Regions from separate parts of the Homo sapiens genome. Here regions 1, 2 and 3 are each linked to region 4. The links are contacts of gene promoters, found by promoter capture Hi-C in blood cells and fetal thymus (Javierre and others, 2016). All regions are on one chromosome and are shown on one strand. The core of a region is centred on a gene start or on the middle of the fragment in contact, and the rest is flanking DNA. Distances in the headings are between cores, read along the strand shown. Region 1 has its middle 60 kb from the start of LINC02550. Region 2 has its middle 120 kb from the start of LINC02550. Region 3 has its middle 23 kb from the start of LINC02550. Region 4 holds the start of ARHGAP20 (Rho GTPase activating protein 20).

Evidence for each region. Contacts are between HindIII fragments. The CHiCAGO score rates a contact against its expected background, and 5 or more counts as called.
Region 1: a fragment that was not itself captured here is called in contact with the fragment with the promoter of ARHGAP20 in region 4 in 1 of 17 cell types (M2 macrophages); the score reaches 5.1 in M2 macrophages.
Region 2: a contact is called between a fragment that was not itself captured here and the fragment with the promoter of ARHGAP20 in region 4, in 1 of 17 cell types (M2 macrophages). The highest score is 6.7, in M2 macrophages.
Region 3: a contact is called between a fragment that was not itself captured here and the fragment with the promoter of ARHGAP20 in region 4, in 2 of 17 cell types (M1 macrophages and M0 macrophages). The highest score is 6.8, in M1 macrophages.

The regions. Positions count from the first base shown.
Region 1 is chr11:111,035,473-111,038,572 of GRCh38, forward strand. No RefSeq gene overlaps it. Among named protein-coding and RNA genes, the nearest start is that of LINC02550, 60 kb to the right of the region's middle. The HindIII fragment of the contact is 4,083 bases long and covers 1-3,100 here.
Region 2 is chr11:110,971,169-110,974,192 of GRCh38, forward strand. No RefSeq gene overlaps it. Among named protein-coding and RNA genes, the nearest start is that of LINC02550, 120 kb to the right of the region's middle. RefSeq lists an enhancer at 281-450. The HindIII fragment of the contact is 1,025 bases long and covers 980-2,004 here.
Region 3 is chr11:111,072,705-111,076,109 of GRCh38, forward strand. No RefSeq gene overlaps it. Among named protein-coding and RNA genes, the nearest start is that of LINC02550, 23 kb to the right of the region's middle. The HindIII fragment of the contact is 1,182 bases long and covers 1,517-2,698 here.
Region 4 is chr11:110,710,986-110,714,286 of GRCh38, forward strand. ARHGAP20 (Rho GTPase activating protein 20) reads right to left here and starts at 1,452. Exons shown (of 15, transcript NM_001384657.1): 1 at 1,142-1,452. The coding sequence starts at 1,246. RefSeq lists enhancers at 1-316, 1,299-1,800 and silencers at 1,324-1,383, 1,404-1,563. The HindIII fragment of the contact is 6,153 bases long and covers 1-3,132 here.

The sequences.
Region 1 (3,100 bases), core at 407-2,906, 320 kb after region 4:
TGAGATCAAAATGGCAGAAGGCCAGGAAGCTGAGGGAGAAGAAGCAATTTTGTAGTCATTTGCATAATAACTTGATTAATATTTTTCTCCCCCATTAGATAAAAGCTCTGTAAAGGCAGGGACTGTGCTATATTTGTTTGCTCACCATAAAATAGCTTCATAATGGAGTACTACATTCTTGGCATTTATTCAGTCAATGTAAAAAGAGCCATATAGAGAGATTTTCTATTATTGTTCTAACACTTCCACTGAGAACATTGTTGCCTAGTTTCCTCATGTAAGACACTCCCTGACTGATGATGTTTTATTTCTTGATATTGGTGCTTGTTTCATGGCTGTGTTTGCTTGTGAAAATTCATGGAGTTGTAAACTTATGATTTGGGACCATGAGCCAGCAGATCTGACAATGCTAAAGATACTGTGGTGCATACGACTCTGGTTTTAGACTCTGTCACAACTAGAAGAATCCCAGAACCCTCAGTGTGTAGAACCAGGCCATCCTTCTCTGTCAGAGAAGTAGCAGAGTCTGCCAGGCTACAGGGCCCTAGTGTATTTGGAATTACACATCATTATGTGGGCATTATCAGATCCACCATGTCAGAAGGGTGAGTGCAGACAGTAGTAATATATCATACCCAATGGAAATGATCAACTCAGGATGGGGCCTGGGCAGTTGTATTAGTCTGTTCTCATGCTGCTAATAAAAACATACCTGAGACTGGGTAATTTATAAAGCAAAGAGATTTAATGAACTCAGTTCAGCATGGCTGGGGAGGCCTCAGGAAACTTACAATCATGGTGGAATGGGAAACAAACACGTCCTTCTTCACCTGGCAGCAGGAGAGAGAAGTACAGAGCAAAAGGTGGGGAAATCTCCTTATAAAACCATCAGATCTTGTGAGAACTCACTCACTATCATGAAAACAACATGGAGATAACTGCCCCCATTATTCAATTACCCCCTCCCACTGGGCCTCTCCCACAACACATGGGGATTATAGGAACTACAATTCAAGATGAGATTTGGGTGGGGACACAGCCAAAGCATAACAGCAGTCCAAGAAGCACAAATTAAGAATTTCGAGCAATTAGACCTGGTACAGTTTAGATATTTGTCCCTCCTCAAATCTCAGGTTGAAAGGTAATCCCCAGTGTTGGAGGTGGGGCCTGGTGGGAGGTGTTTGGGTCATGGGGTAGATTCCTTCCAGTTTGGTGCTGTCCTTGCAATACTGAGTGAGTTCTCATGAGATCTGGTGGTTTGAAAGCATATGGCATCTCCCCAACACCAACCTCCTTGCTCCCTCTCTCACCATGTGCCATGTGTACTCTTGCTTCACCTTCCTCCATGAGTAAAAGTTCCCTGAAGCCATCCCAGAAACTGAGCAGATGCCGGTGCCATGTTTCCTTTATAGCCTGCAGAGCCATGAGCTAATTAAACCTCTTTTCTATATAAGTTACCCCTGGTAATCACCAATCTAGTTTCAGGTCTTACCTTTAAGTTTTCAATCGATTTTGAGTTGACATTTGTGTATAGTGTAAAATAAGGCCACAATTTTATTCTTTTGCATGTGTATATACAGTGTCCCTCAGATCATTTGTTGAAGAAACTGTTCTTTCCTCACTGTGTATTCTTGAAACCCGTGTTGAAGATCTGTTTACTGAATATTGATGATTTTATTTCTGGGCTCACAAGTCTGTTCCATTGGTTTATATGTCTGTCCTTATGCCCATACCATTCTGTTTTAATGGTGATGTGGTTCATGGTAAAGAAGTATCCTATGATCACACACCCATTGCTGCACCCTCTTTGCCAAAAATTTGGTCCATTGGTCCTGAAGCAATGTTATGCAAGATCCCATGCTGGTAAGTTAGGCATCCTGCAAGTCCTTAGGTGTAGTGCTGGGAGAGGTATGGAGGGCAGGCAGTGTGAACCCATATCCAGAGTAGGTATTATCAGTTCCATAAGGAGTAATTACTCCCCCTCTGTAGGGTAAAAGGGCTATGATGTAATCAACCTGCTCCCAGTGGCTGACTGGTTTCCTCATGTGATGATGCCACGTTAAGGGTTTAGTAGAGTGTCTCCTGCTAACAGTTTGGGCACTCAGCTGTGGCAGTGGCTAGACCAGCCTTGGTAAGAGGGAGTCTATGCTGTTGGGCATAGCCTCCATCCATAAATGGCTCATTTTTCAAGCACTAGGGTGGCTGAGGAGAGAGCCTGGCTGACATCCATGTGACAAGTTGACCTCTTTGCCTGGTTGTTGAGTGCCTCTTCTCTGGTGGGCATTAATGTGAGGCAACAGAGACATGCCTGATTTGTTCTCCCTCCCATTGCCCATCCACATGTCTCACCCCCAGAATTCCATGTCTTTTATGTTTTAGTCTTGCTTCTTACAGACTCTAATCACCCAAAAACGTCATTTTCTGTGTTCATCCCAACCTCAGGCCACTTGTCTCTCAACACAAAGTAAATGATCAAATTCACTGCTTGCAACTATGCCCATTGACAGGATTTCCCTCTGGTACTGCCTATGTGGGTCACCTCTGAGTCCAGCTAAATGGCAGTAGCAGTTCACTTTGGGCTAGCACCTATATAGTAAGCCCCAATATTTTTGGGGGAGTTGGTCATAGAGAACCCCCTGTGAGGACATAGGTGTGAGGTGAACAGAGGTAGGTGACATAGAAATATGGGTCTTGTGTTAGGCCATTCTTGCATTGCTATAAAGAAATACCTGAGACTAGGAATGCAACCAGTCCACAACTAGTCCACAGCTAGCCTAGAAAAGTGAAATAGCCTATTAAAGACTTAGCTAAGACATTGGCTGTAGGATGGCTACTGGCAGTGTTTGAGTGCTCTTCTTCAAGATGACGTATATGCATACTAGTTTGTGTATGGTGCTGAGTACCCAGTAGCTGCAATGCACATGTCACAAAATCAAGAGATGAATATAAGATTAGTCCTTCTTATCATCACTGCCACAGACCTACTTATGGGATTTTTGCTTCCTATATCCACACACTTGGATTCTGCTAGACTAGATGTCCTGGTTGTTGGGATGGGGGGTGAGATGGGAAGGGACCTTTCCACTAAGAGATGTTTAAA
Region 2 (3,024 bases), core at 242-2,741, 260 kb after region 4:
CTTTGATTAATGTACCAGAGATTATCTCCATTCCAACAAGCCAGAGGAGAAAGCAAAGCATGGAGGAATGCCTCATGGAGTTTATGGTCAAGCTTCCAATCAGTGCACATCACTTCTGCTCACATTCCGGTGGCTGGAACTCAACCACAGGGCCACTCCTTACTGTAACAGAAGTCAGAACATGCAGTCTAGTTGTGTGCCCAGGAAGTGGAGGAGGCCATGAATTTTGATAAGCAGCTAGTGGCCTGTGGCACATGTGATGAGCAGGCTGGAACCAGATCTTATCTTATCCTCTTGAAGCAAAACATCTTGGCCCACATTTAAAAAAAATAGGTATATAAGTCTCTTCTGCTTGTGTAAGCAAAAGCATGTAAATAGAATACTTATGCAGAAAAAAATGAGGTTAGTTTTTGCATCTGTTCATGGTGTCACCATGTATTCTGCCTTCAAAAGGAGAAGCTTGGGTGCCATCAACAGATTCTCCCTCTATTTTATTCCAAATCCTTAGGTCTGATCTGTCATCTAGTGTACACTATAAGACTGAACTCTAGCCCCTTTTCTCTGACTCCGTTGCTTCTCTCTTCTTTTAGGACCAGGCTGTTAACTTTAAGGGATGCAATAGCTTACAAAATGGTCTTCGGACCACTAGTCCCCAGTGCAATTGATTAAACATCTTTCTTCCATCAAAGTTATATTTTAAAAACAAAGTCACTAGGTCCTATCCCAGGTTAATAAAGTAAAACAAACAAAATGCAAACACACTTCTTCTTGGCCATCCTAGATTTTACAGATAAAAATCCAAACTCTCCAGCTGGGCATCACAGCTGGCATCTAAGTGCCTTTCTAGACTTACCTGTCTACTTTCACTCTATCTCATATCTTAATTTCCTGCCTTCATTGTCTTCTTGTGAAATTCCAGTTCAGATTAGGCCTATGACTCTATTCCATTTCAATTTATGATTCAATGCCTTTTTTTACAAGCTTTGCACAAAATAAAATCTCTCCCCTCTTTACTTCCTAAATTACCTTCATTTTTAAGGAACCAGTTGAAGTATTCCCTCTTCTATGAAGATTTTTAAATAACTGTCACAGCAGAGTTGGCTGATCCATCCTCTGTGAGCCATGGCACTTTTCCCAATTCAATTTTCACTTCGAAAACTCAAAGTGAGATAATTGCCTAGGCAAAACTTTCTCCTGAGAGTAAAGAACTATATCAAATAGTAGCAAGGAAACTGAGACAATTTTCTAGAACTTAAATGCATTCTTTCCCCTTGTGATTCTGCAAAAATTATCATTATCACCATCATCACCATCACCATCATTATCACCATTACCATCATCATCATCCAGCCAGTTTTCATCCACCCTGTCTACAACATACATACATATCCCAGCACTCTCTTTCTTTGTTCTGCCTTGGGAATCAGTAACCAGACAGCCCAATTTTGCAAGATTATCTTATTCCTCAAAAAGTTTACCAAGTGTCCCAAAACTTCCTGTTGGAACAACATATACTTCACCTTTGGGCCTTTTAGCCAATTTGATTACTACTTAGAACAACAAATAAGACTTCCTGAGACTTCTCTCAGCCACACAAGGCCAAGATGCCACAGAGCTCAGAGAGTAATTTTGCTGCATCACGGTAGTGCCTGTCTCTGTTGAGCAATAGCACTGCTAAATGCTGATATTCAGCTCTGACTCAGAACCGAGGGCTCTGGTCTAGGGATAGGAGTATGAGAGACATGGGGGCTTGTTTTTCATAAACATTCCCTGCTCTTTGTATATCTGGTAAGTGATACAGTACATGTCCAGACTGTCTGAATATCTAATCTCCGCTTTTCCTTCCCACCTGAGCCCTTGATCTCTTCCCAGTCCATTTGGGCCATTAGCCCATCTGAAACTCAAGATTCTCCCAACATGTAAAACATGTTGTAAAATCTTTTTAGTGAAACACAGCTTATTTTCTATTTTAGGAAATTATTTTGAGAGTATTAGACTGCTTTAAGCTTTACTTCCTTTCCTTATAAGATGAGGCACACATTGGCGCTTTATACATTTCATTTTTAAATCTAACAACATCTTCAGAGTTCATATTATAATTTAGTTTTACAGATAAGGAAATAGAGGCTGAAATCCTTTATTCCCAAGGTCACATGGCCAAGTGATAAGTAAACAACTGAGCCTGCCATCCAAACCCAGTTCTATAGAACTATAAGCCTTGGCATTTTCCAAAGGGCTCATACTATTTTGATATTGACATTTTGGTGCCAAGGCCCCAAAATGATGGGGCTCACAGGATGAGAGACAGGGCAGGGCTTACTCATAGCATAGAGGATATGTCAGGGATTTCTTTTGTAGACATCACTAAGTAATAAATAGCAGTGTTTTGATAATTTGATACGCTACTTTAATATGGCTCCATCAAAAAGGTGCTGCTTTGTTCTGCTAATCCACTACTATCTGAATCAGAGGGCACACACAATACAAGAGCTGGAAGGATCCATTTGGAAATGATTTATTTTAGCCCCTTCCTGCTGCTGCTAAGAAGAGCAGAGAAGAGATCTGCCAAAGGTCACAAAGGCAGTTGGGGAAAGAACTTAGTCTAGAGCCTGGCTTCCTGTTACGGCCTCTCAGGACTCAACATTTCCCTACCTTGCACACAAAGTCCTGTCCAGGCCAGCCTACACTGCTCTCTGCCTTCTGAACTGGCTCACCATAAACCATCTCCCAAAGCATGTTCTGGGACTCATGCTCCCAGAACTCATGCCTCCTTATTTATGCAAGAGTTGATATTACAAGTCTTACAAAGGCATACAATTTAACCACATTTAATCAGTTACCTCAATTAAGAGAACAAAGTTAAGTGAAGTTGGGGATAGTTGGAGAGAGTGAAAATAAACTCGGAAAAATGGAAAAGTAGAAAGTCGGCCGGGCGCGGTGGCTCATGCCTGTAATCCCAGCACTTTGGGAGGCCGAGGCGGGTGGATCATGAGGTCAGGAGATCGAGACCATCCTGGCTAACAA
Region 3 (3,405 bases), core at 858-3,357, 360 kb after region 4:
CTAGGGCTGTAGAACGAGTGATTCAATACAGGGAAGAAGGAGCCTTGGCCCAGGATGTAGCAGGTGAGTCCTTTAGAGGAGCTTGCTTGTGGCCAGAAATCCTAGGACGGTCACAAGTATAAGAAAATGTGGACCCTCTCTCTTGTGAATACCAGGAGAGGAACTCACCTGAAGCAAATTTACATCCTCGCTATTTCCCCTGGTGAGCATTCACATACAATCTAGTTCTAGATGTGCCAGAATGGACACAGGGTGGGGAAGCCTTGTTTTGTCATTCCTGCCTCTCGTTGGCTGCTGTGCCAGATTACTTGGTGCTGGCTTATGGTGTAGATAGAACACTCCGAAAGTCACCTGTAGTATGTCATGGCCAGCAGAGCACTGGCAACCTGAGGCCACACTGTGACAGCCACTGGGGCCATATGGCTTGCTGATGGCCATGAAGCTTCATCTTTGATGGAGGTCATCCCTGAGACCAAGCTACCAGAATGCTGAGCCTGGAAGCAAATAGAAAACTGAATAGGTCCTAGTCTTTGTGCTTAAAATACACTTGCAAGAAAAAGAACTGAGGGAAGAAATCCCTAAATGTCCAAAACAGTATAAGGTGATAGCTCATGCCATAAGATCACTGACTAGAAGATGGATCAGGAGCCATCCAATTTCACACGACTGGGGCCAGAATCAGCTTTTTTTTTTTTTTTTTTTTTTTGTGAGACAGAGTCTCACTCTGTCTCCCAGGCTGGAGTGCAGTGGCAAAATCTCAGCTCACTGCAAGCTCCACCTCCGGGGTTCACGCCATTCTCCTGCCTCAGCCTCCTTAGTAGCTGGGACTACAGGCGCCTGCCACCATGCCCAGCTAGTTTTGTTTTGTTTTGTATTTTTAGTAGAGACAAGGTTTCACCATGTTAGCCAGGATGGTCTTGATCTCCTGACTTCGTGATCCGCCCGCCTTGGCCTCCCAAAGTGCTGGGATTACAGGCGTGAGCCACCGCGCCCGGCCCAGAATCAGCTTTAAAGTTACACGACAAGAGTGAAGAACAACACAGCCTCGAAGAAAGATATGATATTTCTCACGTTTAGAAAAACTAAACTATTTTTCAAGAAGCTGAAGTAGGAAAAAAAGAATGAATGAAATGCACAAACAAAAATAGTTAAACATTCTAAAGAAAGTGTGCAAAATATTCTCCTTAAGAAAAATGTCAGATCAAGTCCCTAACTGGATGCGTACTAAAGAAAGTAGATCTAGCATAGATAATGGTCACTGGGAGCTGAACAGAAAGAGAGAGTCCAATGGGAGATCATTAAAATGATCATTCAAAAAAGGGCTCTGAAGAAACTGATTCATATTCCCAAGCTAAATCTTTCCTTATAAACCCTTGAAGAAGAAAGTAACCAAATATATATTGCATTTGATGAACAAGACCAAAAAAAAAAAAAAAAACTTAAGGATTATATCAAAACTCTCTAGAGGAAGAATGCATCTTGGGAAACAAATTATGCAAAGATTGAAAGATTAGAAAGCTTAAATTTAAAATAATGACTGAACCCTAACACAGAAATGAAAATAAAACCTCACAGGTAGAAGGAAAAGACAATCTAAAGATAAAAGAGAAATGTCCCTGCAGATGAGAGCATGATCCATACCCCTGAGTACCTGGATATTGAAATGAGACAATGCTAGGGGAAGGAATGAAGAGACCTCACATGTCCTTTGAAAAACCAGACTATTGCTGTTGAAAACAAAACTCAAAATATGTGGTTAGTAATTCAGAGCCCAACAACCTGGGAGAAGAAGGTGCACACACTGGACCAAAATTAACTGAAGCAGATGTTACATCTGAGCTTTCAGGAAGGGTATTTGAAGTTTTGGTAATCCAGTTACATCATTTGGGCAGCTTGTGAAGACCAGGGAATCTTTTGGATTATTAGATCACCAATGGCAGAAGCCATGTTCAACTTAAATGGCCCAGGAATCCAGGATCCAAAGCACTGAGTGTGGACCAGGTGTCCCCTCCATAGGATCCAGATCCCAGGATGATAATCGCTTCATAATCCTAAGCCAATTTTTCCTCTAGATGGCTAAGATAGAGTTTACCTTATTGCTCACAATGTCAGTTATCTCTCTAGACCAGCCTAACTCAAAAGTTTTAATACACTTTCCTTTGATAGAGAATAAGCTCCAACATTCTCAAAATTGAAGATCAGTAGAAAGGATATTGACATGCTCTTGGAAGTTTATGTCCTCAGGTCCTTTTCTCCCACCTGAAAGTGGAGCAGCTAGCCCAGGCTTCCTTCTTTTGTCTCAGTATCCAGGCAGGTGTCCCATATTGGAAATGGATTTATGGGCCAAGTTCAAGAGAGAAATCTTCTGTTCCTCCCTCTACTCCAATAAACCCATATAAAGCCCCTTCAAATTACCTTCCACCCAGGGGATATTTGAACCATTCTATTCCAGTTGCACTGTAATGGAATGCATCTACCCCTCAAGGAGGTGTCCTTGTCATCCTTGTCCAATGAATGTTCTCCCCACCACTGCTTTGGAAAGAAAGAGTGAAAAACGGTGGTGCTGATTTCACCTTCAAGTGAGCCTTCTTACAGAGATCTAAAAAGAGGAAAAGTTTCCATTTTCTAGGTCATTTTGAATGTTTCCCTTTTTAGTTAAACTGCTTTTGTTTAAATGTTGTACATCTATTCAAACTGAAGCTTGGTAGAAGTATAAATCTTAGGGCTGTATTTCTGAGTGAAGATGACTTATAAATTAGGATCTTATGAATAAATTAGTTTATTAATCTTAAGAATAAATTATTTATTAGTTTATAGGTAATGTGTTGTATTTTGGTTTGATTAATCAGTCTACCTATTAGTTTATAGGTAATATACGGTATTTTGGTTTGATTAATCAGACATAAATTAGGATCTTATGAATACATTATTTTAGTTTATTAGTTTAATAAATTATTTAGTTTATTAGTTTATAGGTAATGTATTTTGGTTTGATTACAGTCTACTAAAATAGGCAGTAATAGCCATTTTGCATGGGCAGTTCATCAACTAGATACATTTGAATTTTTTTTTTTTTTTTTGAGACAGAGTCTCGCTTTGTCACCAGGCTGGAGTGCAGTGGCGCGATCTTGTCTCACTGCAACCTCGGCCTCCTGGGTTCAAGCAATTCTCCTACCTCAGCCTCCCAAGTAACTGAGACTACAGGCGTGTGCCACCATGCCCAGCTAATTTTTTGTATTTTTTTTAGTAGAGATGGGGTTTCACCATGTTAGCCAGGATGGTCTCGATCTCCTGACCTCATGGTCCGCCAGCCTCGGCCTCCCAAAGTGCTGGGATTACAGGCATGAGCCACTGTGCTCGGCCATACATTTGAAATTTTAAAGACTATTTCTATTTACTAAGATC
Region 4 (3,301 bases), core at 202-2,701:
GGGCACCACTAAGACAAGGCAAAAAAAAAAAAAAAGGCAAAATATCGGAAAGTCTTATGCTGGAAGCGGGGGTGGGGAGGCGGGGGACAGGCAGACAGGGCTAGAAACACCCAAATCAATTCCTCAGGGAGCGAAACGGCAGAGGCCGGCAGCCCGCGGCCCACGTGCACTTGCTCAGGGAACCGTTCCAGCGAAACCTGACCCGGATCGGAATCCTCCCGCAGCACAGCGGCCGTGTTTATCGGAATGGAACGCTACAAGTTGTCACCTGCATCCCTCTCCCAGCTTTGACAGGGAACACGCGCTGCCCCCACGCCCACACCGACACCCGGATCCCTATCCAGCCCGGCCAGAGTCCCAGGGGCCAGGGACCAGTGCAGGGAGAAGGTCCCCCACCTCAGCCCTCAGGACCCCCAACCACAGCCCACCCGCCCCCACCCTGCTCGGTTCTAGGCCCAGCCGAACCTACATGTCCCCGTAGTGTCGAGCGTTATCATCCACAGTCGCCCCTCAAACTGTGACCCCCACCTGGGAGACCCGGAATCATCCAGGACCCTGGTGTGGGGGGCAGTACTCCCCATATCTGCCCCCCGAAAACTGCTATGGAGCAGCCGCGCCTCGGCGGGCAGGTGAGGGGGCCGAGCCCACCAGCGCCGCAGCCCCGCTGCCTACCTTCTTCAGCGCCGGCTGCCGCTCCCGGGCAGACATCGCCGGCCCTGACTTTGGGGCTGACACCGCCAAAGGGCAGTCAGTGCTCGCCCAGGCCACTTCGGGAGGCCCAGGGGCACGGCGAGGGGTCGGGGAAAGGCGATCGCCCACTACAGCCCGCGCGCCTAGACTGAGGGAGGAGCCGGGCTGCAGAACCGGCGGCGGATGGAGACGGGAGGGAGGCTGCGAGGTCGCTCGAGGAGAGACTAAGGCTCTAGAAACGGAGAAGCGGGCGCTCTGCGGGAGGCGGCGGCGCTGCCGCTGGCCGTCAAGGGCGGGAAGTGTTCTGGGACTCTCATTAGGGGCCGCGAGCCTCGAGCGTCAAATTCCCGCGGCGTCCGCCTAGCGCGCTGCTGTGGCGGGCGCGGAGGGCGCGCGCCGGCAGTGGGGGCTGCGGCGGCGGAGGGCACGGGCCCCCGCTCAGCGTCCTCACCTTCTTGGTGCAGCTGCCTCCCGCGAGCCGAGACACTCCTGTCAGGGAAGAGGAGCGCCCCGGCTGTCCCCCTAGAGTCTCCTGCTGGGGGGACATCGCTTCCATGAAGAAAATCTTCAAACAAATCCCAGCCCAGGAGGAGGCTACACGATCATGTCCGCGGGCTGCCGGCCGGAGGGGCGAGGACGCGCGGGCGGAGGCGCGGCTGCCGTGCTCAGGCAGGGAGCCGAGCTCCGGGTGCTCGCCGCGCGCCTCCCGTCGGGGCCATGTACCTCCGCCTGCGCTCGACACCGCGGGCTGGAGGCGAGTGCAGCGGCGACAGCCCGTCAGCGCCGCGGCCCGCCCCGCCTCGGGCCCGCCCCCTCCGCTCCGGGCGCCCTGCGCCGGGGCCCGCCCCCGCAGCCCTCCTCAGCCCTCCTCCAGCCTGGGCCCTCCTAGCCTCGTCCCAGCCTGCGGCGCGCCTGGCGGGCGTCTCTCTATATATGTTAGCACACCGGCCACCGGCTGACCTTTTCGGTCTGTGACTCCGCGTGGGTGCAGCCCGCAGGAGCTCATCGGCCTGTGTCACGCACGGGGGCCTCTAGTGCACGGACACGCGCCTCTCCCGCCACCTGCCCACTCCCACCAGACCCCATCCCTTCCCGCGCCGTGCCCGCGGCGGAAGGCGCCCCTGCAGCGCGTGCATCCGCGGAGCGGTGGCGACCTCAGCCTGAGCAGAGGAGTTGCAGTGATTCCTGCCTCGCTTTCAGCGGACTGCGGAGGGAATCCCCCACCCCACCCCACTGGGGATAGGGTGGCACGTCGCAGAGTGTCGCAGCTGTACAAATTTGGAAGCCCACAGCATCGCCTGACCTCTTGTGCAATCCCGAACGCTAGCCTGTTCGGGTAACCCTGAGTGGGCTTCTGCAGCCGGTCATGTCAGCGGCCCCTGCACATTTGCACCCGCGGTTTCCGCTGTCTGCAGGCTGCAGAGACGGGGGCATTCCAAACGTGAAAGAGCAATGAAGGAAAATGCAGACAGAGCGAGGACGCCGAAATTTGGCTAAGCTATTGAGAAGGCTACAATATGTGGAAGTGTTTATCAGATATCTGCGCCGAGAGCATAACTTCCTGTCAGCCCAAATAGAGGCAAAAATATTTTAAAGGCCAAAGAATAATCAGAGGGAGAGGATTTGGAGCTGACCCGCGTTGAGCTGAGTGTTGCTGCACTTTGCGGGGCTGGTTGACTGGTACGGATGATTCGGTAGATGGCATTCTTCCCTTGGAGTCAGGACTAGAGAAGCAGTGGCGGATTAGTGAGGAAGGACACCACGCTATGATATTAGGTTGTGGAAGGGGTTTGGTTTGCTTTTGTGGTAAGAAGAAAAAAATCGAGGTTCCTGCCAGGTTAGGCTGTTATTAGGACAGGTTGTAGAAGAATAGGGCTCTGGCCGGCTCTGTTCCAAGGAAGGGATGCTGTCCAACACACACTCGCGCGCGCACACATCACCACCATGCCCAGGAATGGTTTATTGTGGAAATAATAGGGGGAAAATGTTCCAGCCCGTTTTAAGCCTTGTCCACCTCACACTGTTTAAAGTAGGCTTACATAGGCTTTATAAATCACACACACGTATAAATCACACACACGTATAAATCACATGTATGATTTGTAAATCATCTATTATTGTGTTTATGTATGTGTGCATATACACACACAGTTTTTCATGGCTACTCTCTTTTTGCAGCTGAGACCCATGTGCAGCGACAGGACTTTGCCCCCACCATAGAGTTTGTCATGAATTCTACACGCAGAGGGCTTTGCAGTTCCTTTCATTCCTTGCTGAAATCATCCACTTACAACTCGTTAGCCTCTTTTGGTTCCTATCATAAATGCACGCTCCCAATTTTCCTTACTCTGTTTTATTTCGATAACACTTATCTCCTTCTAATATATCATGTAATTTACTTAGTATGTTTAGTGTTTATTATCTATATCTCAGAGAAATGCAAGCTTCCAGAGGGCAGGAATCTTTTGTGGGCTTTTGTTGTTGTTGTTGTTATTGTTGTTCTTTGTCGTATACCAAGTGCTTGAAGCAGTGTCTGGTGCAATAAATGTTCGTTTGCTAAGGGAATTAATGAGGCATACAAGGGTTATGAGATAGATCTTAGAAGGGCCAG